Linked DNA regions of Homo sapiens: regions 2, 3, 4, 5, 6 and 7 are each linked to region 1. The links are contacts of gene promoters, found by promoter capture Hi-C in blood cells and fetal thymus (Javierre and others, 2016). All regions are on one chromosome and are shown on one strand. The core of a region is centred on a gene start or on the middle of the fragment in contact, and the rest is flanking DNA. Distances in the headings are between cores, read along the strand shown.

Region 1 (4,260 bases), core at 493-2,992:
TATAATAGACATGGTCCTCTATAATATTCCCTTAGGTAAGAGAACAGAAAAATGGTCTTCTTATTGGGAAATGACTGCTCACTAAGAAGAGTAGATACAGTAAGTGAAAGGGAAACAGAATGGAGAAAGAGTTGATAGGAGATAAGAAAAGATTAAGTCATGTGATTCATGTATGACTGTCAGAGAGTAAGAAACTTGTAAGGTCTAAGAAGACAAAGAACCAAAGGGACCTTTAAAGTAGAGTCCAAAGGGTTGTGGATTATTTTAGGAACCACTTATAATTCAGACCTTTTTTCTACTGTGTCTTCTGACTGTCAGTGATAAGTTAGACTCTGCCATGAGAATGCTTAATCTTAGCCTAAACAAAACCTAATTAGAGTGGAAAGTCTGTTAACCTCCATGCTCAAAAATCAAATGCTATACAGTGCTGAATAACAAAGGAAAACAAAAATCATTTATATACTAAGCACTTTTTTGATGATTAACTCATCCATCTAACATTCACCAGGAATTATTACCTTCTTAAAGTGCTCCATATTATTACTCTGAAAAATACAAAAATATAAGACTTATGGTCTCTTTCTTGAAGCACTAAGCATTGATAAATGAAAAGAGTATACAATTCAAGTCAAATCTCTTTGCTTCTAGTCACAAATATGCCACTTCCAAGACATAATTTTATTTCTAAAATAAGTAATCACACTTGTCCTACCCATTTCGCAACCGTCCCATTCACTTTATATTTATGCTGTGAAGAGTAAAATCAATAAACATTTGAAATAATTTGGAAAAATATAAACCCCACAAATGCTAGTTATTAAATATGTTGACATATGGGGCAGGGAAAACAGTAGCTCAATATACTACAGGGCTGAAACAATGTGTTAAATATAGGGACTAACAACATGCTATAGAAATCAGAGGACTATGAGATTAAATCAGATGTAGCATTATTGAAAAATTTATACAATTATTAAATGCCACTTATTTTCTTTGAATGCTGAGCTGGGAATTAACAAAATAGACACAATCTCAATTGCCACCTGCACTATGCTTGTATAGTCTGCTTATCAAAACCATCCACAGATTTAATTAATTACTATTAATCCTAAGAGTCCTAGGCTACCCTATCTTTCTTCTTTCCCTCTTCTCAGAGCAGAAATAATGACACATGTTTTTTTAACTTTCTTTTAAAATTCTAGGACCTAAATATATTCTCCAAGAAGGGTTAATGACTTTGGGCTTCTCCAACAATTGCAAGTGATTGTCCAAGTTTTGTCCTAAAATTACTTGGAAATCAATTCTTGATATTTACGCAGTAAATATTTATAGACCATACATTGTGTGGAAGTTTCTGTGTTGGACCCTGACTCTATTAGCCACTTAAAAGTTTTCTCTGTGTTCAGAAGCTCATCCAAATAAAGCTCACCTAATGCATCTGAACCTCCTTTATCTGAGCATCAACTGGAGTGTTTCCTCCCATATTATACCACATGCTCATAAAATCCTTTTAAAAATAGGCCAGAGCAAGCCTTCTTGTCATATACATAGTGATGTCATATACTAAGTCATCACTAATTAGCTGCTGAATAAAGGAAAAAATGAATGGATGAAAAATGAGAAAAACACATTACCTACATATACATAGTTTTGCTAAACTACAAGAAAAAGCAGTTGGTAATTGTAATTCTGATGATTTATCTTAGTCATCACAATTTTCCTTTGATGGTATCAAAAGATAATGGTGTTGAATGTTTATTGTTGTTTCTTTCAAATTTCAGACATTCAAACGATGAAGATCAACCAGACAATCCTGAAGGAATTCATTCTTGTTGGCTTTTCTGTGTACCCACATGTACAGACATTTCTTTTTGTGGTCTTCTTTTGTCTCTACCTTCTCACCCTTGCAGGTAATCTGATCATCATGGGTCTAACTTGGGTGGACAGGTCCCTCCACACCCCTATGTATCTCTTCCTTAGTGCACTCTCCTTCTCTGAGACCTGCTATACGCTGACCATCGTCCCCAAGATGCTGGAAGATCTACTGGCCAAGGACAGAAGCATTTCAGTCACAGGTTGTAGCTTACAGATGTGCTTCTTCTTGGGACTTGGTGGCACAAACTGTATCATTCTCACTTTGATGGGATATGACCGCTTCCTGGCCATCTGTAACCCTCTAAGATATCCACTGCTTATGACCAACATTGTATGTGGACAACTTGTGGCCTCTGCTTGCACTGCAGGCTTCTTTATCTCTCTTACAGAGACTGCACTGATATTCAGGGACTCTTTCTGCAGACCCAACCTTGTCAAACACTTCTTCTGCCATATGCTGGCAGTTATTAGGCTGTCTTGTATAGACAGTAACCACACAGAATTCATTATAACACTGATCTCAGTGTCTGGTTTGCTGGGTACCCTTCTGCTCATCATCCTGACTGATGTCTTCATTATTTCTACTGTCCTCAGGATCCCTTCAGCTGAGGGCAAGCAGAAGGCCTTCACCACCTGTGCCTCCCACCTCACCGTGGTTATAATCCACTTTGGTTTTGCATCTATTGTTTATTTGAAGCCAGAAGCCTCAGGAGATGACACACTCATAGCAGTCCCTTATACTGTCATTACCCCCTTCCTCAGCCCCATCATATTCAGCCTGAGGAATAAGGACATGAAAAATGCTTTTAGAAGAATGATGGGAAACACAGTTGCCTTGAAAAAATAATCTTGGGTTGTTGCTGCTTGTTTGAAGAAGGGCTCAATGTCCCCAGAATTCAATAGGGGCATTTATCCTGTGACCCCTGGAGAAACTTGTACCATTTGCCTTGTTCCAGAGGTTGGGATGTAAGAAGCAAGTGACACAGACTGGGAACTAAGTAGCCACAGGCATCTACTTAGCTTGTTAGAGAAGCTGTCCAACCCTTCTACTATCCAGTATCAGAAGAAGAATGTCCCTGCAGATAAAAGATTCTGATAATCAACTTCCGGGTGTCCTGCAGTATTCATGAATTGAGTAAAAAGTGTGGAAGGAAAAAACAGCATATAAATCCACTGCACTGAGTGATGTTTTAAATATCTAAAGATGTCAACCATGGCTCAGGCTTGTAATCCCAGCACTTTGGGAGGCCGAGGTGGGCAGATCACTTGAGGCCAGGGGTTTGAGACCGGCCTGGCCAACATGGTAAAACCCCATCTCTACTAAAAATACAAAAATTAGCTGGGCATGGTGGTGGGTGCCTGTAATCCCAGCTACTCGGGAGGCTGAGGCAGGAGAATAGCTTGAACCCAGGAGGCAGAGTGAGCAGAGACCATGCCATTGCACTCCAGCCCAGGTGACAAGAGCAAAACTCCATCTCAAATAATAATAATAATAATAATAATAATAATAATAATAATAATAGACGTAAAAGTTAAGGATTTTTTTTAGGCAAATGTTATGAAGCACTGAAATGCACCTCCCATGAGACAAATCATTTCTGATAAGAGATGTAAGAGTATTGATGTAATTTTGAGTTCTGTTACTTATGGGAATGTTATGAAATAAATGAAATAGTGGATAAATTTATTATGCACATTAACTGATTAAGTTTACCCCTGACCATGACACTCTTTCTTTGGGATTATTTTCATGATACAGGTGCAGACAAAAATCTCTGCTACCTTCAATCTGCAGCCATTCCTTAGTGGCAAGCATTTTCTTTTGCTTTGGTTCCACTCCCGACAATTGGTTATTCAATCTAGGGAAGCTAAAAGTCTCAAAAATAAATACTATTTACTCCCTTATTATGGATGCAGAGGATGTTACGTCAAGTCTAGACTCAAGATCCTGAACCTAAATTTGGACCAATTAGCCTGCTTGTGCCTGATATAGTGACTGTGGCGGGGATTGCTAGTTGCCAGAAATAAGTGAGTAAATGGAAGCTGAAAATACCCAAAGACTCATACCCATATGGGCACTTGCTTTATGACAAGTAAAGCATTTCAGTACAGTGAGAAAATGATAGACTTTCAATATAACTGGTGCTAGGAAAATAGCATATCCATATGAGAAAAACAAAATCTGAAAAAAAAAATCAATTTCTGGAAATCGAAAACTAAATTTGAAAAGTGAAGCAATAAAACTTTAAAAGGTAATGAAGAAGATATCTTCACCAACTTGAGATAGAAAAGACTGTTTAAACTGTATGTAAAATTTTTAACTAAAATGAAAAAGGCTGATTAAATCAAAATTGAGACATTTTATTCATCAAAAAGACGCTATTG
Region 2 (4,260 bases), core at 941-3,440, 510 kb before region 1:
AAGTTTTTACAAATTTTTATAATTTAAATATGCCATGTGCAGTGACTCACGCCTGTAATCCCAGCACTTTAGGAGGCCGAGGCAGGTGGATCATGAGGTCAGGAGATCGAGACCATCCTGGCCAATATGGTGAAACCCCATCTCTACTAAAATACAAAAAAAAAAAAATATCCAGGCATGGTGGTAGGCGCCTGTGATCCCAGCTACTCGGGAGGCTGAGGCAGGGGAATCACTTGAACCTGGGAGGTGGAGGTTGCAGTGAGCCGAGATTGTGCCACTGCACTCCAGCCTGGTGACAGAACAAGACTCCGTCTCTCTCTCTCTCTCTCTCTCTCTGTATATATATATACACATACATATATATGTATATATATATTTTCTAAATAAATAAAATGTTATATACATTCCTCTGTAACTTGCTGATCTTCATTATGTCATAACTGCAGTTCATTTTCACAGCTGTAATGTATTCCAGCACATGAGTATCCATGAATATGCCACAATTTATTTGTCCCTTTGACAGGTTTCCCCGTTTTTTGGCTTTAACAGTGCTGCTAAAAGTCTTGCTGGGACTGGGAGTGCTGTGTCATAAGATGTATGTGTCTTCAAAATTAATAGATAATACAGCATTATGTTCCAAACAAGTTGTATCTCCCTATGCTACCAGCAGTGAATAAGATTTGTTAATCTGTAAGAAATATTAAATCCAATTTTTCTCCCAGAATTCAGTGTGTTCTGGCTACGTCACTGCACTGACCCTCAGGAAATTTAGATGCCTTTTAATATTGTATAGCTGAGAAGGGGAATTGAAGTATCATGCTAGATCTTGTAGAATTATATATATGCTGTCATTAGTACTTCTTTTCCATTAGTGTCATGAAGTTGCGTGTGTTTGTGTATTTGTATGGGTTAATGTGCTTTCAGTATTTTATTTATGCGAAATCAGAATGGTATGGGGTTAAGATTTCAGCCTCTGGAAGTAAAAGTTCTGGGATCAAATTATTTATTTATTTATTTATTTATTTATTTTTATTTATTTATTTTGAGACGGAGCGTCACTCTGTCACCGAGGCTGGAGTGTAGTGGCGCGATCTTGGCTCACTGCAACCTCCGCCTCCTGGGTTCAAGCAATTTTCCTGCCTCAGCCTCCCAAGTAGCTGGGATTACAGGTGCCCACCACCATACTCAGCTAATTTTTTTGTATTTTTAATGGAGATGGGGTTTCACCATGTTGACAAGGGTGGTTTCGAACTCCTGACCTCAATTGATCCGCCCACCTAGGCCTCCCAAAGTTCTAGGATTACAGGCGTGAGCCAGTGTGTCCAGCCCCTGGGATCAAATTTTGACTCCTCTACTTACACCTTTGTAACCTCAGGCAAGTAACCTATCCTCTTTCCTCTGCATCTTGGTTTCTCTGTCTGAACGTAGGTACAATTGTTCCTATTCCCAGAGTTGTGGCTGGGCCTAGAGAATACTTAGGACATGAGGATTCACCTCCTTCTCCACTTCCTGACATGATGTTGCCTATGCTTCCCCACCTCTCCCACCTTACCCTTCACCGTGTTCTTCCTTGTCCTCAGAAAATAAGCTTTAACCTCCTTCAGTCTGATAATGTGGGCCTGGGTCCAGAAGAGGGGCCAGTCTCTAATCTGTGTAATTGCGGAGTATGTTTTTGGAGTTTAACTTATTCATAGTTAGGGCTAAAATTGTTATCTGCTATTACAAACTCCTGCTGCATATATATATTTATAACATTTAGGCCATCTTCTACATATTATGTAGTAACTTAATTGTTTTCAGCTTATGCAACATGGTGAATCATTTCCTGAGTCACTTTGGTGGTTAGTCTCTTAGTTTTGCATGTTCAGATAATATTTTCATGTTTTACTGCTAAAATTGTGAATAGTCATTTATTTAAATGAGTTTATATATTTGTTTCCTACAGCAAATATCAGGAATTAGAATTGTTAGGTTATAATTGCCCTCTTTTTTCAATAATTTTTAATTCATGATAAGATGACTCACCTAAGGATTTCACTTAATTGTTTTTTTCCTTAATTTGAACATTAGAAATAGGACTATGTTTAGGGTGTGTGTGCCCTTGGGCAATCACCCTCTGTTTCCTGTGGCCCTGCTACATTGCTAACTTCAGTGGATACCATTTACTTTCTGTTTTGTGTATCCTTGAGGCCCCTTTCATGCTAGAATATTTTTATAGGTGACAGCAGTTTAAGCATCCACATTCTAAGCAGGCCCTTTTCAATAGAGAGGGACGAAGCCACCATTTTTGCTTTGGCAATTGCTGGTGTGTCAGTGAACACACACACACTCATAACATTTGTTACCACATCCTTTATACATCACCCCCTAAGTTACTCTCCAAATACCTTCCCCCAAGGGCATCCAGAGGGCAGGACTTCAGCTGGCTGCCTTGATTCATCCCATCCTACAGATTGCTGTCAACACAAGAGATGATCAGGATAATGTAACGATTGCACTTTGTAAGTATATAATTTTGTTCATTGTCACCAGTTACATGCTGGCCATCCTCAAGCATATAAGATAGTCTTGTAACTTGTGAATCTTCAGAAATCAGAGGAGTTTCTCCTCCTCTTCACTGCTGACAGTAGTCAAAAGGGACCCAGCCTAGAATAAGTAAAGGGAAAGGCAGAACCTGCCAAAGCACGTCGTGACAAGCATGTCATTGTGGACTGACTCTACCCAGCATTTTTTCAGTGGTTGTAATGCCACACATGGCTTTAAGGTATTAATAGGATTGGACACAAGCTTTTCTGTCTTCTACACTTATAAGACCAAGAATGGCTAAATATAAAAAATGTAACCTTTATCCTATCATTCTCTTTTCTAGCTGTATTATTTGTTACTTTATTAAGTAATGTTTAAAGTTATTTGTATTAATTATTTTTACCATTCTCAGGACCATACAAGCCAATTTCTACAAGACTAGCATTAGGATTGAGGTTTCTCATTTAATGGTGATTCATCTTTCCCACATACAGCCTGCCCCTTCATTCTGATGTTTCCATTTCAGCAAGAGACTGAAAGGGAAAGGAGGTCAATAGGAAGTTACTCAGGAAGAAGAATACCAGGAGGGAGTGATGGTGCTGAACACAAGGGAGCCATTTGAGGTGGAATCTTTGAAACTCAGACACTTTATGCTAATGTGGTAGAGGTTGCTTAGGGAAAGTCTTTAGCATCAATGTAAAAGACAATTTTAACTCAAAGAACGATCAAAAATTATTTCCCTGATGGTTTGCTAGAGTCAAAACATGCCTTACACATGTTTGATGCTGACTCTGACAGAGGGATCTGTGTCTCCAGTTACCATGTCAGGAGACTAGACAAACAGCTCATGGTAAAAAATAAAAGACAAATGAATAACCTCCCAAACACAACCTTGTAGGAAAAATAGTAAGAGTTTTCACCTTAAGGTAAAGTTTTGGACTTGGTCTGAAGTGTCCATAGAAGGCATTTAAATAAACATTTTTATTTAGAGATAGAAACAAAAACAAAAATTGAAAGGCATGGAATTTTAGTGGCGTGATGACAATTACAATGACAAAATTATGAAATGTGAAGCAGTCACACGCTTTCTAGCAGTATGCGAGAGAGACTGATTCATGGACTTTAAATTCATGTATTATTTTTACATTCTGGTATATTTTTGCACTTTATAGTCACATCTTTTTCTGGTGTATGTATCTTTACACTGCATTCCTGCACTTTATTTAAAGTGACAGTATTTGTGAATATGACTGAAGTTAAGAGTTGAATGTTGTCTTATGTTGGGTCCCCAAGAAACAGACTGTTAGATTTGCCTGCAAGAAGTTTATTAGAGGGTGCTCTTGGGAACACCTATAAAGGAGAGAGGGAAACTGGGTTGGGCGGAGGGAGAAGTTAAATTGCAGTGAGGGCTGCAGCCAATCCCCCTGGGAACCCTAGAGCTGGGATGGCCTCTAGTTATGCCTAAGTGAGGCAAGAAGGCTGTGACCTTGAACCTCCTCATAGACCCTAAATCCTTGGCTTCAGGCTTTCTCCATGGAAGGATGCAACCTTGGGGAAGGCAGTTCCCTTCAGCATAGGGCAGTCCTGGAACACAGACTCAGGTGTCAGCTGTAACACTTCTAGCAGCTGGGAAAATAGGCACTTTGGTTGTCTGGTTGAAGGGTCTAGGGTCCAGTTACTGAAAACAAATAGTTACTGAACTAAAAACCGATAGAATAGGTAGGGCAGAGATGA
Region 3 (4,260 bases), core at 879-3,378, 490 kb before region 1:
TTTCTGTGGTCCCAGACTATCCTTCTTTAGGCGATGATCTCCTCCTTCTTCAGAAGGGAGGGAGAATCCACCTTCAGGGATTTTCTTTCCTCTCTATCTCCAGTACAGGTGACAGTATAAATTACCCACAACACAAAGATTTTTTTTACATTATTCAATAAATCACTCATCTCCATCTGAATTATCTACATTTAGTTTAAATTCCTGATTTTGTTTACTAAGAACAATTGATATGTCCCAGCTTTATGTCTGAAGAACAAAAAGGAGCTAACAGAGGAGCATATCACTCAAGGACTCTCCAAAATGAAAGTCTCCAAATGCAACAGTTTTAGGATTCAAAGTACAACAGTAGCAGCAAAAATTATAATAGCTTTTAGTAGCATTTGTGGGTGTACAACAAGGGTGACATGGCTTCTCACACATGAGTTATAGGAAGGCTAAATGAAGCCACATAAGTGATACTATGTACATTCATAATTCTATACAGATATAAACTGTTAGGTAGTTTCTAAGGCACTAAAGAGAAAGGAGTGGTGGTTTTCCCAGGCTTTAAGTTAGAAGGTGTAGTTCTTAGAGATGGCCCTTAGATGGCAGTAACTACACATGTTACTTCCAAGTAACCAACCAAAACATTGCCCTGTGTTTTTCTTATCTGGGATGAGCCAGGAATCTAGGCATATTGGCAAACATAGGCTGAGATATTTAGAAATATCTTTTATTTTGGTAATAAATCAAGAATTAATTCTTCTCTTTGACCAGGATAGAACAAAATTTCCCCTTCTACAATCTTCTCCCCATTTTGCTATTCTAATGATTCTGGGATTTTGTTATTCTGCTTAGCTAAAAAAGATCCAGTTTGGGACTAGCTTGGAAACTCAGGAGTAGATTATCCAAGGACTCTCCCAAATGAGAGTCTCCAAATGTAACAGTTGTAGGATTCAAAGTATGCTTTTGGGCCAGGCGCAGTGGCTCACGCCTTTAATCCCAGCACTTTGGGAGGCCAAGGCGGGTGGATCACTTGAGTTCAGGAGTTCGAGATCAGCCTGGCCAACATAGTGAAACTTTGTCTCTACTAAAAATACAAAAATTAGCCAGGCATGGTGGCGGGCATCTGTAATGCCAGCTACTTGGGAGGCTGAGGCACGAGAATCACTTGAACCTGGGAGGGAGAGGTTGCAGTGAGCTGAGATCACACCTCTGCACTCCTGCCTGGGCAACAACAGTGAGACCCTGTCTCAAACAACAACAACAACAAAACACAAAGTATGCTTCTTGCATGCTATACAAGAAGGCAGTTAAGTTCCTTCATAGCTCTAAAATTCTATCCACGGACATACTTAGGCCGCTTTTGAATGTAGGAAATTTTTGTGTGTCCATGCTATTTCTATTATTTTAGGAAAACAGTTTTTGTTTTATTTTTTGAACAGTTAATCTGTCATTCTTGGTTAAGTGATCCTTCTCCATTGCCATTGCATGTCTGCATGTAGAGTGCTATATGCTATTCTACTCATGACCTCACCTCATGGAAGGTAGAAGATACCTGGAGAATCTTTAATGAAGACAGAGGCAATAATTAGTAGACAGGAGAAGCTTTTGTATGAAGCAAGATGAGAAAATATAAGGACACATAAGCGTAGAAAAAGGAAGCTAAGAGAAAATGTGATCAAAGTCCACAAAAGTCCTGCAAGATTAAAATAAAATGCTGAAAATGATAAATGAAATAATCAGTAACAATGTGCACCTGATTATTAAGGCAAATGAGAGATTTATAATTGGCAGACAAGCTTGTCCACAAATATTGCATTGGTACCACAGTGTGTGAAATGAAATATGGCTGATGTGATGTGGTAGAATGGTAGGTTGATTCCTTCCGCCTCCCTTGATGCTGTTTTCTCTCCGATGCTGTGAACATAGAAGAGAGACTTTATCTGCATACCTTTCTGAAACCAATTTCATGGAACTAACTTACCATTGGAAGGTTAGTTTAACTTCTTCCTAGTGCAGAGATCCTGCTACAATATCCCTGTCAGACAGTCAACCACTTTCTGATCTTTGAAAGGTAATGACAGAGTACCTACTACCTCATAAGACAGTTCATTCTACTCTTAGCTCTAATAATTAAATCGTTTCTCTTTTTAGTAAAATCAGTGATTGCCTTGCTATTTCAGTCCAGAATTGTTCAAATTCTATCAGAAATAACATCTAATAATTTCCCAGGCCCTCTTCTGCCTGAGAGTGCCTTAAGTCATCAAACATGGCCATCTTGTTACATGGTCTTTTTAAAAATCAGGAGTAGGAGTTGGCTTTTCACGATAACATATAACCTGACCATAGACGTGGAGGAGCCCAGCCAGAGTATACGACTGCATTTTGTAGGCATTAGTGAGGAGCCAACATGCCACCCATCCATCCATTTCTTCATCCATTCAGTAAATATCCATTGAATTGCTAATAGGTACAAGGAAAGCTTTTAGGTTCTTATGATAAAACAAGGTTTTAAAAACAAATCCAAATTTTGTACAGTTTATACTCTAAAGGGAAAGTAGATATTTTTCTTACAGGCAAATTAACTGAGACAGGTAACTAACTGAGACAAATGTTCTGATGGAAAGGAAGATGGTTCTTCAGCAGCATGTGTCAAAGGAGCATTAACATAAGCCAGGAGTTAGAGTTGGTGTTGGTCAAAGCGGGTTCCATGGGGAAGTGACTTGCACTAAGCTGTGAAAAATGCATAGGAGTTAAAGGTACCTTCAGTCAGAGGGAACACTGTGTGAAAATCCCTCTGACAGCAGGTGTTGACTTGCTTGAGGACTGAAAGAAGGCCAGTATGGCTGCAGTACAGAGAATCTTCAGAGGGCAGGATGGGGTCCCCTCGACAGAAGGAAAATGCAAGGCCTTGTAGAACATAATTAGAAATCTGTGGCCAGGCGCGGTGGCTCACGCCTGTAATCCCAACACTTTGGGAGGCTGAGGTGGGCGCATCACGAGGTGAGGAGCTCAAGACCAGCCTTAACAACATGGTGAAACCCCATCTTTACTAAAAAAATACAAAAATTAGTCAGGCGTGGTGGCATGAGCCTGTAATCCCAGCTACTCAGGAGGCTGAGGCAGGAGAATCACTTGAACCCAGGAGGCAGAGGTTGCAGTGAGCCAAGATTGCGCCACTGCACTCCAGCTTGGGTGACGGAGTGAGACTCCGTCTCAAAAAAAAAAAAAAGAAAGAAATCAGCCCTTGTTTCATAGCAGCAGTTTATTCATTTTCACTACTACATAAGATTCCATTTAATTGATAATTACATATACACATAAACTGATATACATATATATAGAGAGAGAGAATTGGTGTATTTTTATTGTTATTTTAGTCATTGGAGGCCATTATGAATAATGCTGCTATGAATATTTATGTACATTATAAGCCTTATATACTTATCTTTGTATGTTTGTATTTGTATGTGTGTTTCTCTTGACTGTACACCTGTGAATGGTATTACTGGATGTTAAGGTAAGTAGATATTGAATTTTAATAAATAGCGTCCCAAACCATTTTCCAAAGTGTTATACCAATTTAAGACGACTACTACTTCATAGTTTTTGTTTCTTGTCTTTTTTTTTTTTTTGAGACAGACAGGGTCTCACTGTGTCATCCAAGCTGGAGTGCAGTGGTGCAATCATGACTCACTGCAGCTTTGAACTCCTGGGCTTAAGTTATCCTTGCCTCAGCCTCCCAAGTAGCTGGGACTAAAAACATGTGCCATTATACCTGGCTAATTTTGAAAATATTTTTTGTAAAGATAGGGTCTCCCTATGTTGACTAAGCTGGTCTCAAACCCCTGGCCTCAAGTGATCCTCCAGCCTTGGCCTCCCAAAGTGCTGGGATTACTGGTGTCTGTGCCAGGTCCAGTTTCTTTCATTTTAAAATATGATTTTTTTTTAAGAAAAATTAGCTGTTCTTGAAGATATCTTAATATGGTTTTAGTATTTATTCCTGGTGACATTTGAAAATGTGCACTGCTCATATGTTTATATGCTTATTGGCCATGTCTTTCATTTTTTAATCAGTTGATAAGCAATACAAATCGGTAACAAAACCAAAGCCACTAAGTCAAGCTGAAATGAGTCCTGCTGCATCTGCAGCCATCAGAAATGATGTCGCAAAGCAACGTGCTGCACCAAAAGTCTCTCCTCATGTTAAGGTAGGATAAGGAGAGTGGAGTGGTCTTTGTCCTTGTAAGAGCATCACTGTCACTGTCACTTCCC
Region 4 (4,260 bases), core at 975-3,474, 450 kb before region 1:
GACAAAAGCCAGCTTGTTGGAGGGCTGCTTTTTACCTGTCTTGCATCATTTTCCTATACCTTTCTACATATACCAATTTATACAGAACTCACTATGCTGTTTCACATTTTAACATTTGCATGTGACATTTTCTCTCCCTAGAAATCTTTCCAGTGTTTGTCTTTATCTTGCTAAGAGCAATAGGACCTATTGCACATTGATTTCCCATAATGTACAAGGCAATGGAATAAGAAATATTTTTCCATTATCTCATTTAATTTTTAAACCAATCTTATGAGAAATATTTAAAAGCTATTTTTCCCAATATCAGGAAACTAATGTGCCAGATGTAGAACAAGTCTTTCCTATTCCAAAGTCCTTGCTTTTGGCCACTGCATTATATTGGTTCCCCACCCTCCTAATTTCTTCAAATATTTTATTATTTACCACGAGTTTTATATCCTTTTGAAGCCTATGAGGAACATCATTCTCCTAATATATCTTAATAGGCTTTTCCATTTAAATGTGAGTGGAATATTCAAAATGGCACGTTTGAAAAAAAGCGGACTGCTGCTGCAGGCTCCAGGAGACAGCAGAAAAACTGTGAGTGCCCAAAGTGTGAAAGTGTGAAAGGGGATCATCCACCCATGAACATACATCCTCACTGGGGAACCTGAAGGTCTGGATCACAAGTGAAGGATTTGACCTTACCTGGAGCTAAGGTGAATTTAGAGAGCTGAGCGAAATACAGGGGTAGAGGAAGCAGCGGGAAGAGCCCTATGGGCTCTCTCAGTCCCCAGGGAAGCCATTACTGACTTTGTCTCACAAAGGTCCTTCAGGAGGGCTGCCAGTAGAATTGGGGAAATACCACAGGGAGAAGAAAACTTCCAGCTGAAGTTTCGACCGAACACAAAATTTCCTGGACAGAACCCAGGGGTGGGGGTGATCTGGGAGTGCAGACACCAGCACAGAAGCCACAGCAGGCAGGGAGGCTTGAACTCTGAAAACCCTGCTTGCTTTCTCAGCAGGGAGGCTGGTAGCAAGTTCTCAGCTCTGCTCACTTGCTGCCTGGAAATAAACTCAGCGTTGTTGGTGGGTGATGGTGGGAGTGAGACTGGCCTTTCAGGCTGTGTGGGAACTGGATGAGGCCTGTAACTACCAGCTTTCCCCAACTTGCCTGGCAACTTGCATGACACAGCAGAGGCAGCCATAATTCCCTTGGGAATATACCTCCATTGGCCTGAGAATCACACCCCATCCCCCACAGCAGCATCAGCTTTCCCTGTCCAAGGGGAATCTGAGCTCAGACACACCTAACCCTGCCCCCACCTGATGGTCTTTCTCTACCTGCCCTGGTAGCCAGAAGACAAAGGACATAATCTCTTGGGAGCTCTGTGGCCCCCCCACCCACCACCTGAGAAACTCAAATCCTATTTCAAGTGACCCTAGGGCAAGCTTGTATCCTCCCTATACTATTGCAGCTGATGCTCTCTTAAAAGCTCCACCTCCTGGCTGGAGGACAACCAACACAAAATTATCCCAATAAACAAAATTAAAACCAAGGACCCTCATGGAGTTCACTTCACTGCCCTGCCACCTCCACAGGAGCAGGTACTGATATCCATGGATGAGACCTGAAGACGAACCACATCACAGGACTCTTTGCAGACACTACCCAGTACCAGCCTGGAGCCTGGAGCACAGTAGCTCTGCTGGGTGTTGACAATCACTGTAGTTCAGCTCTCAGGAAGCCCCATCCTTTGGAGAAGGGGGAGAGCACCACATCAAGGGAGCACCCTGTGGGACAAAAAAAATCCTAACAGCAGCCCTTGAGTCCCAGATGTTTCCTCTGATATAGTGTACCCAAATGAGAAGGAAGAAGAAAAACAATCCTGGTAATATGTCAAAACAAGGTTCTTTAACAGCCCCAAAAGATCACACTACCTTACCAGCAGTGGATCCAACCCAAGAAGAAATCTCTGAATTGCCAGAAAAGAATTCAGAAGGTGGATTATTAAACTACCCAAGGAGGCACCAGAGAAGGATGAATACCAACTTAAAGAAATTTAAAAAATGTTACAGGATATGGATGGAAAAATCTCCAAAAAAATAGAGAGCATAAAAAAAAATCACAACTTCTGGAAATGAAGAACACACTTGGAGAAATGCAAAACACACTGGAAAGTCTTAGCAATAGAATCAAACAAGTAGAAGAAAGAACTTCAGAGCTTGAAGACAAGGCTTGTGAATTAACTCAATCTGACAAAGATGAAGAAAAATGAATTAAAAATGAACAAAGCTGCCGGGCATGGTGGCTCATGCCTGTAATCCCAGCACTTTGGGAGGCTGAGGCAGGTGGATCGCCTGAGGTCAGGAGTATGAGACCAGCCTGGCCAACATAGTGAAACCCTGGCTCTACTAAAAATACAAAAAATTAGCTGGGCGTGGTGGCAGGCACCTGTAATCCCAGCTACTTGGGAGGCTAAGCCAGGAGAATTGCTTGAACCTGGGAGGTGGAGGTTGCAGTGTTCCGAGATCGCCCCATTGCACTCCAGCCTGGGCAACAAGAGCTAAAGTGTGTCTCAAAAAAAAAAAAAAAAAACTGAACAAAGCCTCCAAGAAGTTTGGGATTATGTTAAACAACCAAACCTAAGAATAACTGGTGTTCCCGAGGAAGAAGACAAATCTAAAGGTTTGAAAAACATATTTGAGGGATTAATTGAGGAAAACTTCCCTGGCTTTCCTAGAGATCTAGACATCCAAATACGAGAAGCTCAAAGAACACCCGGGGAACACCCTGGAGAAAGATCATCGCCTAGGCACATAGTCACCAGGCTCTCTAAAGTCAAGACGGAGAAAAGAATTTTAAGAGCTGTGAAGCAAAGTATCAGGTAATTTATAAAGGAACCTATCAGATTAAAAGCAGATTTCTCAACAGAAATCCTACAAGCTAGAAAGGTTTGGAGTACTATCTTTAGCCTCCTTAAACAAAACAATTATCAGCCGAGAATGTGTATCCAGTGAACTAAGCTTCATAAATGAAAGATCAAGTCTCTTTCAGACAAACAAATGCTGAGAGAGTTAGCCACTACCAAGCCAGCATTACAAGAACTGCTAAAAAGAGCTCTAAATCTTGAAATGAATCCTCGAAATACACCAAAATAGAACATAAAACATTTAAAGCATAAATCTCATAGGACTTATAAAACAATAACACAGTAATAAAAAAGTAAGGTATTTAGGCAGCAAATGGCATGATGAATAAAATAGGACCTCACATCTCAATACTAACATTGAATATAAATGGCCAAAATGCTCCACTTAAAGCATACAGAACAGCAAAATGAATAAGAATTCACCAACCAAGTGTTTACTGTCTTTAAGAGACTCACCTAACACATAAGGCCTCACATAAACATAAGGTTTCATATAAACATAAGGTAAAGGGGTAGAAAAAGATATACTATGCAAATGGACACCAAAAAACAAACTTTAAAGCAACAGCAGTTAAAAAAGACAAAAAGGGACATTACATAATGCTAAAAGAACTAGTCCAATAGGAAAATGTCACAATCCTAACACTGGAGCTCCCAAATTTATAAAACAATTACTACTGAACCTAAGAAATAAGACAGATGGCAACACAATAATACTGGTTGACTTCAATACTCCACTGAAAGCACTAGACAGTCCAACAAGACAGAAAGTCAACAAACAAAAATTTTTGGACTTAAACTATACCCTACAACAAATGGACTTAACAGATATTTACAGAACATTCTACCCAACAACTGCAGAATATACATTCTTTTCATCAGCACATGGAACATTCTCCAAGATAGGCCATATAATAGGCCACAAAACAAGTCTCAAAAATTTAAAAAAAAAATTGAAATTATATCAAGTACTCTCTCAGACTACAGTGGAATAAAATTGGAACTCAACTGTAAGCAACCTTAAAACCATGCAAATACATGGAAATTAAATAACCTGCTCCCGTATGATCATAGAGTCAATAATGAAATCAAAATGGAAACTAAAAAATTCTTTGAAATGAATGATAATAGAGAAACAACCTATAAAACCTCTGAGATACAACAAAGGTGATGCTAAGAAGAAAGTTCATAGCATTAAATGCCTACATCAAAAAGTCTGAAAGAGTACAAATAGATAATCTAGGGTCACATCTCAAGGAACCAGAGAAACAAGAACAAACCAAACACGAATGCAGCAGAAGAAAAGAAATAACAAAGATCAAAGCAGAACTAAATGAAATTGTGA
Region 5 (4,260 bases), core at 1,761-4,260, 430 kb before region 1:
GAATTGCTTGAACCCAGGAGACGGAGGTTGCAGTGAGCGGAGATCGTGCCACTACACTCCAGCCTGGGTGACAGAGTGAGACTCCGTCAAAAAAAAAAAAAAAAAAAAAAAAAAGCTTCCTTCTTACGAGAACATGAGGATCCTTGGACTGAAAAGGTCCAGAGAATGAAGGGAAAATCTATACAAAAACACATTATAGTGAAACTGAAGAATATAATGAACAAAAATACTCTGTAAGCCTTCGGTAATGAGGAATAGATCACCTACAAAGATTCAAGAATCAAATTGAAAGTGAATCTCTATATCAAAACTGCCTGAAGCAGGACAATGGAGTTATTTTTATATAATGTTGGTCCAAAGTTCCATATCAATTGCAAAACCAAAAAAAATTTTCAATGGAAAGTTTTGACTTATTTTGTGAGTGTGCTAGAAACAATAAGTTCGTCTTCAAACTTTCCTGTTCTTTCCTGTTCTGTAAACAACCCTTCCTTCCTTTGCCGCCCCAGACATGCCTTCCCGCCTAATTGGTACAGGACAGTGTCTTCCTTCCCGCCTAATTACCCCTATAGAATTTAAAGCAGTAGCCAATCCGGTCAGCTTAGAATGTGCATTGTGACTGACGCAGGCAGCACCCTTCTGTAGAAGCAAATATGCTTTGCTGAGAAATTTCCTGTTTAAGTGCTGGTTTTTCTTTGTGGCACTGAGCACTTGTTTCCAACAAGTGTGACAGCACAATTTATTTGCAAAATAAAACCAGATTTGGGATGACAGTAGGCTATGTATAATCTTTATTTCACTGAAATGTGAACACTCACATGTTTTGTTTTGCAATATTAGTGCTTTTGATTTTGGAGTAATTATTTATATCCCAATGGAGTTTCTAGTAAGACACTATTTAGAATATATACACTAAATAGCCTTTCTGAAGCCTCCAGATTCTTAACTTCAAAATGTATCTAGCTCCACAGCACAGAAGAGGTGCTTTCATCTTGTCTTAAGGGAAAATATAATTTTACATTTTAGAGTTTTAATTTAGGCAAAATGATATTTAAATAGAAGAGTCTCAAAAACTATTTTGTGATACTCAGGGCCTCAGTCTTTTTGCAAGACAAAGACTCATACCACAAGAAAACATCTATTGAAAATAATATTTAATAGGAAAACATGAATAAAATTAAAAATTCTGCCAGCCAAAAGATAAGAAGAGTGAAAAATAAACTTTTTTAGGTGTTCCTAATGTCTTACAAAGAAAACCCTGATCAAATATAAGAGAAACAGAAATTACAACAGCATGGTAAAGGGAGGGAAGAAAAAGAACATGACAATTCACTAAAGCAATTGTCTTAGATAGTGAGATGATATAGAAGTGTCATAAATTGAAGTAAAGACAGCAGATTGTTAATTACCAGCATATACCTAAAAGGTCTGACCTGTTAAGTGACAACTTTCATCAAATTTGATTTAAGAAATCTACATATATATTGTTAACAAAAGGTGAAAAAAATTGTTAAAAATTATCTTGCAAGGAATAACTAAAGAAAGCCAGTTTATCTATGTTTGTGTAATTTTAAATATACCTTAAGCCCAAAAGTAACTTCAGATACCACATGATAAAAGTTTCAACTCCTAGAAAATTATGTTTTAGTTATGAATTTATCTAATTTATCTAATGATATTATTTATTATTTTATAGTGCTTCATGGTACTATAATTAGTATATATTTCTCTTCATATACACACATGTACAGACATCACTACACACATATATGTGTGTACCTGTTTGTATACATGATTATATATACATATATTTGTGTGTGAATGTATATTATATATACACATAACATGTATGTGATTGTGAGAGCACTACAAAGAAAAAAAATTTTTTTTTTTTTTTGAGACAGAGCCTTGCTCTGTCACCCAGGCTGGAGTGTAGTGGCACAGTCTCGGCTCACTGCAACCTCTGCCTCCTGGTTCAAGCGATTCTCCTGCCTCAGTCTCCTGAGTAGCTGGGATTACAGGCACACATGACCATACCCGGCTAATTATTGTATTTTTAATAGAGACAGGGTTTCGCCATGCTGGCCAGGCTGGTCTGGAACTCCTGACGTCAAGTGATCCGCTCGCCTTGGTCTCCCCCAAAGTACTGGGATTACAGGCATGAACCTCTGTGCCCGGCCAAAAAAGCAAACTTTATAATAGGAGATTTCAGTTTATGCTTCAATTACTAAATGAACAAGGTGAAAAAATCTGTAATGATATAATAAATTTGAACAACGTAATTAACAACATTTATCTAATAAAATTCTGAAAACAACATTTAAGAATCTCACATTCCATTTAAGCACACATGAAATATTGTACCAGGCTATAGAAAACATCTTTTAAAAATTTGAAAAGTAAACAATAGTAACCTTTTCCTAACTGCCTTCCCCTCCACTCCCCTATACCTTGCCACAAGGAAAAAAAAAATCATTAACTTTCAGGAGGGCAGAGAGTAATTCCAAAATGATTGAAATTCTGCCGCTAGCACCCGGTGCAGAATGGAGCTAAAGTAAAGGATCAATATACTTATGAAAATATTAAGACACCATGTGCTTGAGTAACTGTGTTTGTGAAACTGAAAAAAATTTTCTACTCTGTGTACATTTGTTCTTATGTTTTGTAAAATTGGGATGATGTCATATAATACATCTCTATGCTCAGATATGTTTTTTACTTAATATTCTTTCATGATACTTTTTTCATGTCACTATCTTGAGAACCCACCACAGCTACCGAGTTTCCAACACTTCTTCCAGCCAAAATAACAGAAGCCCTCTTCTAAGTACCAACTTATGCCAGTATACACTCGGATAATTAATTTTAAAATCTGCAACGGTCAAAATGCATTTTCTCTTGTTCAGTCCTCAGTTGTGGTGGAATAGAAGATGCCTGTTATCTTCCTAAGTAAATGAAGGATTCATATCAAGCAACTCAGTTTTCACTTTTCTGAATACTCAGCCCTACTCCCATCATCCCATGACCCTGAATAACCAATACTGATTGTCCCCTTGTGATTCTGGGGACTTCAAGGAAGGAACAAGATCATATTTACAAAATCAGGAACAGTACTCACCTCACTGGAAATTTTTTCAACAGTAGTCCAGATCTTGAGATCTTCAGAAATGCAGGAATCAATGCTTATTTGTGTGAGGGGGGAGATAAATCAGTAAAGTTCCCAGAAACGGAACCGCAGGATGTTGTAATCTCCAGAAACGCTAAGAAAATGAAGTATCTGCAAAGATAACAAGGAAAAAAGGCCTTGGTTGAGTCACTTAGTTAGCTGACTAGTGCTGGCTTGCTCCTATTCTGCTATTGCCCCAGAGAAAATGGAGTAGGAAACAATGTGGAGACTCCTCCCACCAGTGTTTTTAGCTTTCGTTTCTGTTAGTCAGAGAAAATGAACAGTTTCCTGGCAAGGGCTGGAGCATGTGGTGAGGGGAAATGGGGGATGAGAAATTACTTTAATGGGTACAGTTAACATTTTTCGGGTGATGTGCACACTGAAATCTCTGACTTCACCAATATGGCATATATCCATGTAACGAAATTACACTTGTATCTCATAAATGTATATAAACACAAATAAGTTTTTTTTCTTACAAAATTCGATAGCTGAAAGGAGTTCCAACATTAGAACTTTCTTACCCAGCAGACTTACATGTGAGTCATTAGAGACTTATATTCCCTTAAATGATGCTCAAATATAAGAGAAGCAACATGGCTTCTTCTCCCCTCCTTTCCTGTGCACAGAGTGGCAGTGGCAGGAGGAGATCTTGGTAGGAGCATCTATTGCTACCAATACTTTACTGCATCTCCTGGTTGGGGAAATGTCTGCTATGAAATCGCTATTTGTTTAAATACTACCTGAAGTATTCATCCAATTATTAATAACTGACAAGCCTGGGCTTTCCAGATCAGAAAGTCATTATGAATATGTAAATCCTTCCTTAAATTTATATGAAGGAGTTTAACACTAGCTGTCCTCTTGACCATGACTAGGTTACTTTACCTCAATGATTAGATTCACGAATGCTCAGATTTTCTGCATTATTCCTGGATAAACAAACGTGGATAGTGGACTCTCAACATGACAGCATCGAAGACTTGAAAATCCTGGAAAATGCACTGAACTTCCGGTAGTGTGAGGAGTCTGTTTAATCCTCTGCTCAGCAGTGTATTTTTCTCTGTTAAGGACAGTGGGTGCCCTTTAGCGTGCTG
Region 6 (4,260 bases), core at 1,173-3,672, 400 kb before region 1:
CCACAGACATCTGAGCTGGCTAAAAGTGCCAAGAGAGTTGGCAGAGACAGAACTCCAGATTGCGCAGACAGAGGGTTTGGCACAGGAATGGCTGCAGTGGAGCATGGACATGGACGCCCATCCCTTAAGTCTTGCCATACTCCTCTAGGTGGCTTTAGCCTTTGTTGGCTGCAAGGGCTGGATAGAAATGAACTATCTGCTCAAAGGGTGGGGCTGGTTTGATCAGAGTGTCCCCATCTGCTGGCCTCTCTCAGAGTTTCTGCCTCGCTGCACCAACTTTCAGCATGGCCTTGGCAGCACTGACCCACAATTGCTGTCCCACCAAAGCATTTTTGCCAGCATGTCCCCACATAGATGGTTTAGACAGTAGACTGAGAACACCTCAGCCCCTTCAGTGCAGCAGGTCCTTTACCTCAAGTGGTCAGAAAAAAAGGTGTTGGCCTAGTTTCAGACCCCTAGGGGTAGAGCACACAGCCTAACAGTGCTGAGCTGATCCTTGGACCCATGAAATTATCCAGAAACAAAGCCGATCAACTAAACCCAACTTATAGCACAGCTAGACACTCAAGGACATCAAAGAATATAAAATAAAAGAGCCCCATCCAAAGAACAGCAACTGCAAAGACTAGCAAAATATTAGCCCACACAGATGGGAAAGAACCAGTGCAAGAACTCTGGCACTGTAGAAACCAGAGTGTCTTACCTCCAAACTACCATGCTACCTACCCAGCAAAGTCTAGATGGCAATGAAGATTCTTGAAATATAGGAGAAAGCAGAAACCCAATCAAAGGAATCTAAGAAATCCAATAAAATAATACAAAAGCTTAAAGATAAAATAGCCATTTTAAGAAAGAACCAAACTAACCTACTAGAGCTGAAAACTCACTACAAAAATTTCATAATATAATTGGAAGTACTAACAGCAGAAGCTGAGGAAAGCTGAGGAAAGAAATCTCAGAGCTTGAAGATCAGTTCTTCAAATCAACTCAGTCAGATAAAAATAAAGGAAAAAATAATAAAATATGAACGAAACTTCAAGAAATATGAGTTTATGTAAAGAGACCAAACCTACAACTGATTTGCATCACAGAAAGAGAGGGAGAGAGACCAAGCAACTTGGAGAACATATTTGAAGATATTGTCCCTGAAAATTTACCTGACCTTGCTAGAGAGGTTGACATGTAAATTCAGGAAATTCAGAGTACCCCAGCAAGATATTACACAAGATGACAATCCCTAAGACACATAGTTATCCAATTCTCCAAGATCAAGGTAAATAAAACATATGAAAGGCAGCAAAAGAGAAGAGGCAGATCATGTACAAAGGGAACCCTTATCACACTAACAGTGGACCTTTCAGCAGAAATTTTTCAAGCCAGAAAAGATTAAAGGCCTACATTCAGCATTCTTAAACAAAAGAAATTCTAACCATGATTTCATATCCAGCCGAACCAAGCTTTGTAAGTGAAAAAGAAACATAATCCTTTTCAGACAAACAAACACTAAGCGAATTTGTTACCATTAGGCCTGCCTTATAAGAGGTCCTTCAGGGAGTGCTGAACATGGAAACAAAAGGCTGCTACCTGCCACAAAACAACACACTTAAGTAAATATTCCACTGACACAATATGCAACTATACAATCAAGTCTACATAACAACCAGCTAATAACACTATGACAGGATCAAATCCTTACATATCAATATTAACCTTGAACATAAGCAGGCTAACCACTCCACTTAAAAGGCACAGAATGGTAAGTTGGATAAAGAAGCAAGACTCAATTACATGCTGTCTTCAAGAGACCCACCTTACATGTAAAGACACAGGCTTAAATTAAATGGATGGAGGAATATCTATAAAGCAAATGGAAAACAAACAAAATAGAGCAGGGGTTGCTCTTTTATTTCAGGAAAAAAAAAACAGACCTTAAACCAAAAGCTATCAAAGAGGATGAAGAAGGGCATCACATAATGATAAAAAGTTCAATTCTACAAACAAGACTTAACTATCCTAAAGATGTGTGCATTCAGCACTGGCACAACCAGATTCATAAAACAAGTTCTTAGAGACCTATGAAGAGAACTAGCTAACCTCACAATAATAGTGGGAGAATACAACACCCTACTAACATTGTTAGATAAATCATTGAGGGAGAAAACTAACAAAGATATTCAGGAACAAAATTTCACACTTGACTAAATTGACCTAACAGACATATAAGGAACATTCCACTCAACAACAGAATATACATTCTTCTCATCTGCACATGGCACATACTCTGTGCCACATGCTTGGCCACATGCTTGGCCATAAAGCAATGCTCAGGAAATTCAAAAAACAGAAATTATATCAACCACACTCTCAGATCACAGTGCAACAAAAATACAAATCAATACCAAGAAGATCTCTGAAAATCATAGAAGTATTTGGAAATTAAACAACTTACTCCTGAATGACTTTTGGGTAATAAATTAAATTAATGCAGAAATCAAGAAATCTTTGAAACTAATGAAAACAAAAATACAATATATCAGAGTCTCTGGGACACAGCTAAAGCAGTGTTAAGAGAAAAGTTTATAGCACTAAAGGCCTACATCAAAAAGTCAGAAATATCTTAAATTTATACCTAACATCACATTTACAGGAACTAGAAAAAACAAAAGGAAACCAACCCCCAAACTAGCAGAAGAAAAATAATAATCAAAATCTAAGTTGAACCAAATAAAATTGAGATGTGAAAATTCACAAAAATAATTAAGAAAACTAAAAATTGGTTTTTTGAAAGAATAAGATATATAGACCACTAGCCAGATTAATATACAAAAAAAAAAAAAAAAACAGGAGAAGATCCAAATAAATACAATTAGAAATGACAAAGGGGACATTACCATGGAACCCACAGAAATACAAAAACTCTCAAAGACCATTATGAACAATTTCTATGCTGAAAAACTAGAAAATCTAGAAGAAACAGATAAATTCCTGAAAACATACAACCTGCCAAGATTGAACCAGGAAGACATTGAATACCTAAACAGATCAATAACAAGTTCTGAAATTGAATCCATAATAAAATACCTACAAACCAACAAAAGCCATGGATCAGACAGATTCACATCTGAATTCTACCTGATAGATAAGGAGGAGCTGATACCAATCCTACCAAAATTATTCCAAAATATTGAGGAGCGGAGACTCTGCCCTGAATCATTCTATGAGGTCAGCATTATTCTGATACCAAAACCTGACAGAAACACAAAGGAAAAACAAATTCAGGACAATATGCCTGATAAATATTGATGCAAAAGTCCTCAAAAAAAAATACTAGCAAACTAAATCCAGCAGCACAGCAAAAGCTAAGCCACCATGATCAAGTAAGCTTTACCCCTGGAATGCAAAGTTGGTTCAACATACGCAAATTGGTAAATGTGATTTATCACATAAACAGAACTAAAAACAAAAATCACGTGATTATCTAAATAGATGCAGAAAAGGTTTCAATAAATTCAACATTCTTTCATGTTAAAAACCCTCAACAAACTAGGTATCAAAGGAACATACCTCAAAATGAGACATCTATGACAAAACCACAGCCAACATCATATCACAAATAGGCAAAAGCTGAAATCATACCTCTTGAGAACCAGAACAAGACAAAGTTGCCTACTCTCACTACTCCTGGTTCAACATAGCACTGGAAGTTCTAGCCAGAGCAGTCAGGCAAGAGAAAAAAAAATAAAAGACGTCCAAATAGAAAGAAAGGAAGTCAAACTACCTCCTTTTGCAGGTAATATGATTCTATACCCAGAAAACCCCATAGCCTTTGCCCCAAATTTCCCAGAAATTATAAACAACTTCAGCAAAGTCTCAGGATACAAAATCAATGTACAAAAATTAGTAGCATTTCTATACAACTAATAATACCCAAGCTGAAAGCCAAACCAAGAACATAGTTCCTTTCACAATAGCCACACAAAGAATAAACACATAGGAATACAGCTAACCTGGGAGGTAAAAGATTTCTACAACAAGAGTTACAAAATGCTGCTAAAAGAAATTAGAGATGATACAAACAAATGGAAAGACATTTCATTCTCATGGATAGGAAGAATCAATATTGTTAAAATGGCTATATTCTCCAGAGCAATTTACAGATTCAATGTTATTCTGATCAAACTACCAATGTCATTTTTCACAGAATTAGAAAAACTATTCTAAAATTTATATGGAACCCAAAAAAGATCCCAAATAACCAAA
Region 7 (4,260 bases), core at 1,184-3,683, 380 kb before region 1:
CAGCATTTGCTTGTCTGAAAAGGATCTCATTTCTTTTTCATTTTTGATGCTTTGTTTGGCTGTATGTGAAATTCTTGCTTGGAAATTATTTTCTTTAAGAATGCTGAATATAGGTCCCAAGCTCTTCTGGCTTGTCAGGCTCCTGTTGAAAGTTCTGCTGTAGTCTGATAGGGTTCCTTTTGTAGGTGACCTTCCCAGTGACCTGCCCCTTCTCTCTAGCTGTCTTTAACATTTTTAAATTCATTTCGACCTTGGAAAAGCTTATGATTATGTGTCTTGGGGATGGTCTTTTTGTGTAGTATCTCACAGGATTTCTCTATGTACCCTGAATTTGAAAGTTTGCCTCTCTAACAAGGTTGGGGAATTTTTCATGGATGATATCCTGAAATATGTTTTAAAGGTGTTTGCTTTCTCCTTGTCTCTCTCAGGGACACCAATGAGTTCTAGACTTTGTCTCTTTACATAATCCCATTTTTCTCAGAAGATTTTTCATTCTTTTTAATTCCTTTTTCTCTATTTCATTTCTGATTGAGCTATTTCTTTGAGCCCTGAGGTTTTTTCCTCAGGTTATTTCATTCTGCTCTTAATACATGCAATTGCATTATGAAATTCTTGTAATGTATTTTTCAGCTTTATCAGATCAGTTTGGTTCTTTTTTATGATGGCCATTTTTTCTATCAGCTCCTGTATCATTTTATTGAAACCCTTAGATTTCTTGAGCTGAGTTTTAACTTTCTCTTGAATGTCAATTATCTTAATTCCTACCCATATTCTGAATTCTATTTCTGTCATTTCAGCCATTTCAGCCTGGTTAAGAACCCTTGCTGGGGAACTAGTGCAATCTTTTGGAGGAAACAAGACACTCTGGCTTTCTGAATTGCCAGAGTTCTTGCACTGTTTCTTTTGAGTAGTTAGAAACCTTCTTTCCTGGATGTTGTTAGAGAGCTGAGGCTTTGTGCAGGGTTTTAATTTCTAGCTAAATTCTTGTCCATGGTTACACAGGGGTCTATATTAGCAAAATATTTTTGGTGTTGAAGTTTTGGGCTGTGATCCAGTAGGTGGTGCTTAAGTGTATTGGCCAGTAGGTAGGCTCTTGCTCTGCCATATGCAGGGCATGCTCCCTCTCAGTGCTCTGAAAGTGTGGGCTCCTTTCCCACTTGAGTACTGGCTCCAGATCTTGGCTTGGCACACTGCAGCTCTGGGATGAGCTCAGATTTTATGTTCCCTCGCCAGCTTGAAGGCTGCAGCAGAAGAAACCTTAGCAGTGGTTATGGCAGAGGGCCTTTCACTTGACTCTTGGTGGTCCACCCCAGAGAAACGAGGAGCTGCTATCAGCCAGTGCAATTGGCCAAAGATGGGGCAGCTGTGCTGTGGGCCCAAGCCAGAGGGTCCCGGTTTGGTGAAGAGCAGGGCTACGGGTGGGTCACAAGAGAGATAGACTGAGTTCTTCTCCTTAGGGCAACTGCAGTTCCTTCCCCAGTCTGAAGGCAGCAGGGCAGTACCACTGCAGCAGCAGTGGCAGAGGGGCTTTTGGTTGCCTCTGGGAGCTGCACCTCAGAGAGATGCAGAGCCGCTGCTACTGGGAATGTTCAGCTAGAGAATGGGAAGTTACATTGCTGGCCACAACTAGGGGCTCAGCTCGTTGAGGAGTGGGGCACTGAGGATTCATAGGGAGGAGGGACTGTGCTTTGCTGCCTGTATGGTGACTGTGGTGTGCTGGAAGCGCAGGTGAAACTCTCGGGGTCTTTGTTTCTTCCTTGAACTAAGGGGATCAGGGGCAGAACCACTGCTGTGGCCGTTGCAGTGGGGCTGTCAGTTGCCTCTGGGACCCCCTCCCCAGGGAAACACAGAGTTACTAGCAGACCGTATGCTTAGCCATGGGTGGGGCAGCTGTTTTGCAGTTCAAAGCCAGGAGCCCTGTCTGATGAAGAGTAGGGCTGGGAGCTCATAGGGAAGAGAGACTGGACTCCTCTCCAATGCTCGCTGCTGTGTGCTGGAGGTGCCAGTGTAGTGACCAGGCCCTTTGTTTCTTTCCCAGCTCGAGAGCAGTTAGGGCAGTGCCACTGCAGCTGCAATGGTGGAGGAGTTGTGGGTTGTCTCTGAGATTTTCTCCTGAGACAAATGCAAAGCTGCTTTCCACTGAAGTGTTCAGGAGGGGGCAGGGTAATTGTGTTCGAGTCCTAGGCCTGAAGGCCCCACCCAGTGAGGAGAAATGTGAACAGGGACCCACGGATACAACGGTCCGATCACTTCTCCGTGGGGTGGCTCCAGTGTGTTGGGGATCCGCCCATCACTAATCACTGCCCATCCTTCAGAACCTGAAGGCAACTGGTGCAAGGGCTGCAAGACAGAAAAAATGGCAGCCTACCTTTCCCTCTAGGAGCTCCATCCCAGGGAAGTATAGAGATGCTATAGTCACCAAAGCCCAGGTAGGGAGTAACTGGAGTCTGAAGTCAGGAGGTCCTGCCCAGTGAGGAGAACTGGCATCGGGAATCCACGTATAAAACAGTCTGGCCACTTTTTCATGAGGCATCTGTGCTGTGCTGGGGATCCAGCCAGTCCCTAATCACCACACACTCTCCAGGGCCTGAAGGCAGCCGTGACAATGGCTGTGAAACAGCAAAAATGGTGGGCTTCCTCTCCCTCTGGGGGCTCCAACCCAGGGAAGTGCAGAGCTGCTACCGGCCCATGAGCTCAGGCAGGGGGGTGGCTGGAGTACTAGGCTAGTGGACTTTATCCTGTGAGGTGCAGTGGAGGCGAGGCTTAGAGTCCAGTGCTGCTTAGTCCCCTGGATTCAGCTCCTTTTCTGAAGGCCTGTGAGGCAGCCTGACCTCCCCTATTGCCAGAGCTGCAGCCGCTAATTCCAGGATACTTGGATCCAAGGCTCCAAGGGTTCCTTGTATGCCTGAGTGGTGGCTCTGCCCAGGCTCCACTTAGCTTTCCCTCTCAATCTGAAGGCTCCAGTGGGGTGGTCTCATAGGGGTATCTCCTGAGCCCAGGGTGGCAAAGGTCCGTGGCAGAAGTATGGGTCCCCAGAGACTCTCACTCACTCACCATTTCCCTGCAGTGGAGAAGCCTCCTCTGGCTCCGTGCCATTCCCAGGTGAGCAATTGTCTTGTCTCACTCTTCTCTATTCTCCATGGGTAAAGTTGTTTTCTCGGTGGATCTCAATGGTCCACCTGGATGTTCCAGTTGAAGATCTAGCATTTACTTGCTACTCTCTTCTCTCTACAAGAGTGGTACACACTACCTGTTTCTAGCTAGTCATCTTGGCCCTCAAAAGCAGTATCTTAAATGAAGATTTAACCTCTCATTTCCTCAGTATTTAGAAATATGAAATGTGACTAATAATGACATCATCAAGTTAGTGTAAGGAAGAACAAATAAGAAAAGATACATAAAGTACATATAATTTACATTTAGCACACTCACTATCTTTGTGAACTTGGGGAATATTTTTAAATCCTATGTATTTCAGTTTTCTCTTATGTATAAGGCTGTGAGTAGCATTCTCATGACTGTGTTATGAAAAAGAGATGTGATAATATACATATACATATAGAATGCAGGTTTTAAAAACCAGTACCCTGTAAATACTCAGAAAGTAGAATATCATTTATGATTGGTATCATACTCATTCTGCAGGGATTTGGATGTCTACTCTGATCACTTATGTCTCATACTCCCTGTTTACCTTTCTCATGGAAACCCTAGATCAAATTGGTATAGAAAGTATTTTATTAAAGAAACTTCTTTATTCATATCTACCACTTATTGACAAAAACATCTTGAGTTACTATCTTCTCAAAAACAGCCAAATAAAACAGTCCATCACAATGGTGGAATTTAGATGAGAAAATATATACTCTGGTTGACTAGTATTTTAAATTATTAAAAAAATTTTCTCAGAGTAATTCTTTTCCTTACCATCCCTGGTCCTGATTCATGTCAATTTGAGTTTTTGGCTTTAGGTTAACATAACATAAGACATCAATGATAAGAATAGGCTGCTTCTTGTTTTAAGTCCCAATCCATATAGAACCTATATCAGACAAAATCTTTTGGCAAACCCATGATGAGTGGCACAAGACTTTCCTGCTCACCTAGTGAGCCATAAGTAAGTAGTTGGATACTCTTTTTTTCGGGTGGTAGTTGGACACCCAAGAATAAATGGCTGCATGATGTGTTTAGGTATTTGAGGCCATAAAGGCATAATATCCTCCTGGGATTGCTGTGCTCTACAGATGTTCATGTACAGCA

What was found. The method cuts DNA at HindIII sites, captures the fragments that hold promoters and counts their contacts. A CHiCAGO score of 5 or more calls a contact.
Region 2: a contact is called between a fragment that was not itself captured here and the fragment with the promoter of OR10X1 in region 1, in 1 of 17 cell types (erythroblasts). The highest score is 5.1, in erythroblasts.
Region 3: a fragment that was not itself captured here is called in contact with the fragment with the promoter of OR10X1 in region 1 in 3 of 17 cell types (megakaryocytes, erythroblasts and activated CD4 T cells); the score reaches 7.6 in megakaryocytes.
Region 4: a fragment that was not itself captured here is called in contact with the fragment with the promoter of OR10X1 in region 1 in 1 of 17 cell types (erythroblasts); the score reaches 6.1 in erythroblasts.
Region 5: a contact is called between a fragment that was not itself captured here and the fragment with the promoter of OR10X1 in region 1, in 1 of 17 cell types (erythroblasts). The highest score is 9.5, in erythroblasts.
Region 6: a contact is called between a fragment that was not itself captured here and the fragment with the promoter of OR10X1 in region 1, in 5 of 17 cell types (erythroblasts, M2 macrophages, M1 macrophages and 2 more). The highest score is 10.1, in erythroblasts.
Region 7: a contact is called between a fragment that was not itself captured here and the fragment with the promoter of OR10X1 in region 1, in 5 of 17 cell types (erythroblasts, M2 macrophages, fetal thymus and 2 more). The highest score is 7.2, in erythroblasts.

What each region holds. Positions count from the first base shown.
Region 1 is chr1:158,577,381-158,581,640 of GRCh38, reverse strand. OR10X1 (olfactory receptor family 10 subfamily X member 1) reads left to right here and starts at 1,742. Exons shown (of 1, transcript NM_001004477.1): 1 at 1,742-2,722. The coding sequence starts at 1,742. The coding sequence ends at 2,722. The HindIII fragment of the contact is 11,722 bases long and covers 1-4,260 here.
Region 2 is chr1:159,089,810-159,094,069 of GRCh38, reverse strand. It overlaps a transcript of AIM2 not described here. Among named protein-coding and RNA genes, the nearest start is that of AIM2, 15 kb to the right of the region's middle. The HindIII fragment of the contact is 1,199 bases long and covers 1,591-2,789 here.
Region 3 is chr1:159,068,504-159,072,763 of GRCh38, reverse strand. AIM2 (absent in melanoma 2) reads left to right here. Exons shown (of 6, transcript NM_004833.3): 3 at 4,063-4,196. Among named protein-coding and RNA genes, the nearest start is that of AIM2, 6.1 kb to the left of the region's middle. The HindIII fragment of the contact is 683 bases long and covers 1,787-2,469 here.
Region 4 is chr1:159,028,001-159,032,260 of GRCh38, reverse strand. The region is part of intron 6 of IFI16 (interferon gamma inducible protein 16); the gene reads right to left. Among named protein-coding and RNA genes, the nearest start is that of IFI16, 20 kb to the right of the region's middle. The HindIII fragment of the contact is 1,575 bases long and covers 1,437-3,011 here.
Region 5 is chr1:159,009,017-159,013,276 of GRCh38, reverse strand. IFI16 (interferon gamma inducible protein 16) reads right to left here and starts at 3,370. Exons shown (of 12, transcript NM_001376587.1): 1 at 3,116-3,370. LOC124904432 (a long non-coding RNA gene) reads left to right here. Exons shown (of 2, transcript XR_007066671.1): 2 at 1-770. RefSeq lists a silencer at 552-661 and an enhancer at 3,434-3,513. The HindIII fragment of the contact is 5,786 bases long and covers 118-4,260 here.
Region 6 is chr1:158,982,610-158,986,869 of GRCh38, reverse strand. It overlaps a transcript of PYHIN1 not described here. Among named protein-coding and RNA genes, the nearest start is that of PYDC5, 18 kb to the left of the region's middle. The HindIII fragment of the contact is 1,925 bases long and covers 1,460-3,384 here.
Region 7 is chr1:158,960,429-158,964,688 of GRCh38, reverse strand. All of the region lies in intron 7 of PYHIN1 (pyrin and HIN domain family member 1), which reads right to left. Among named protein-coding and RNA genes, the nearest start is that of PYHIN1, 31 kb to the right of the region's middle. The HindIII fragment of the contact is 4,341 bases long and covers 263-4,260 here.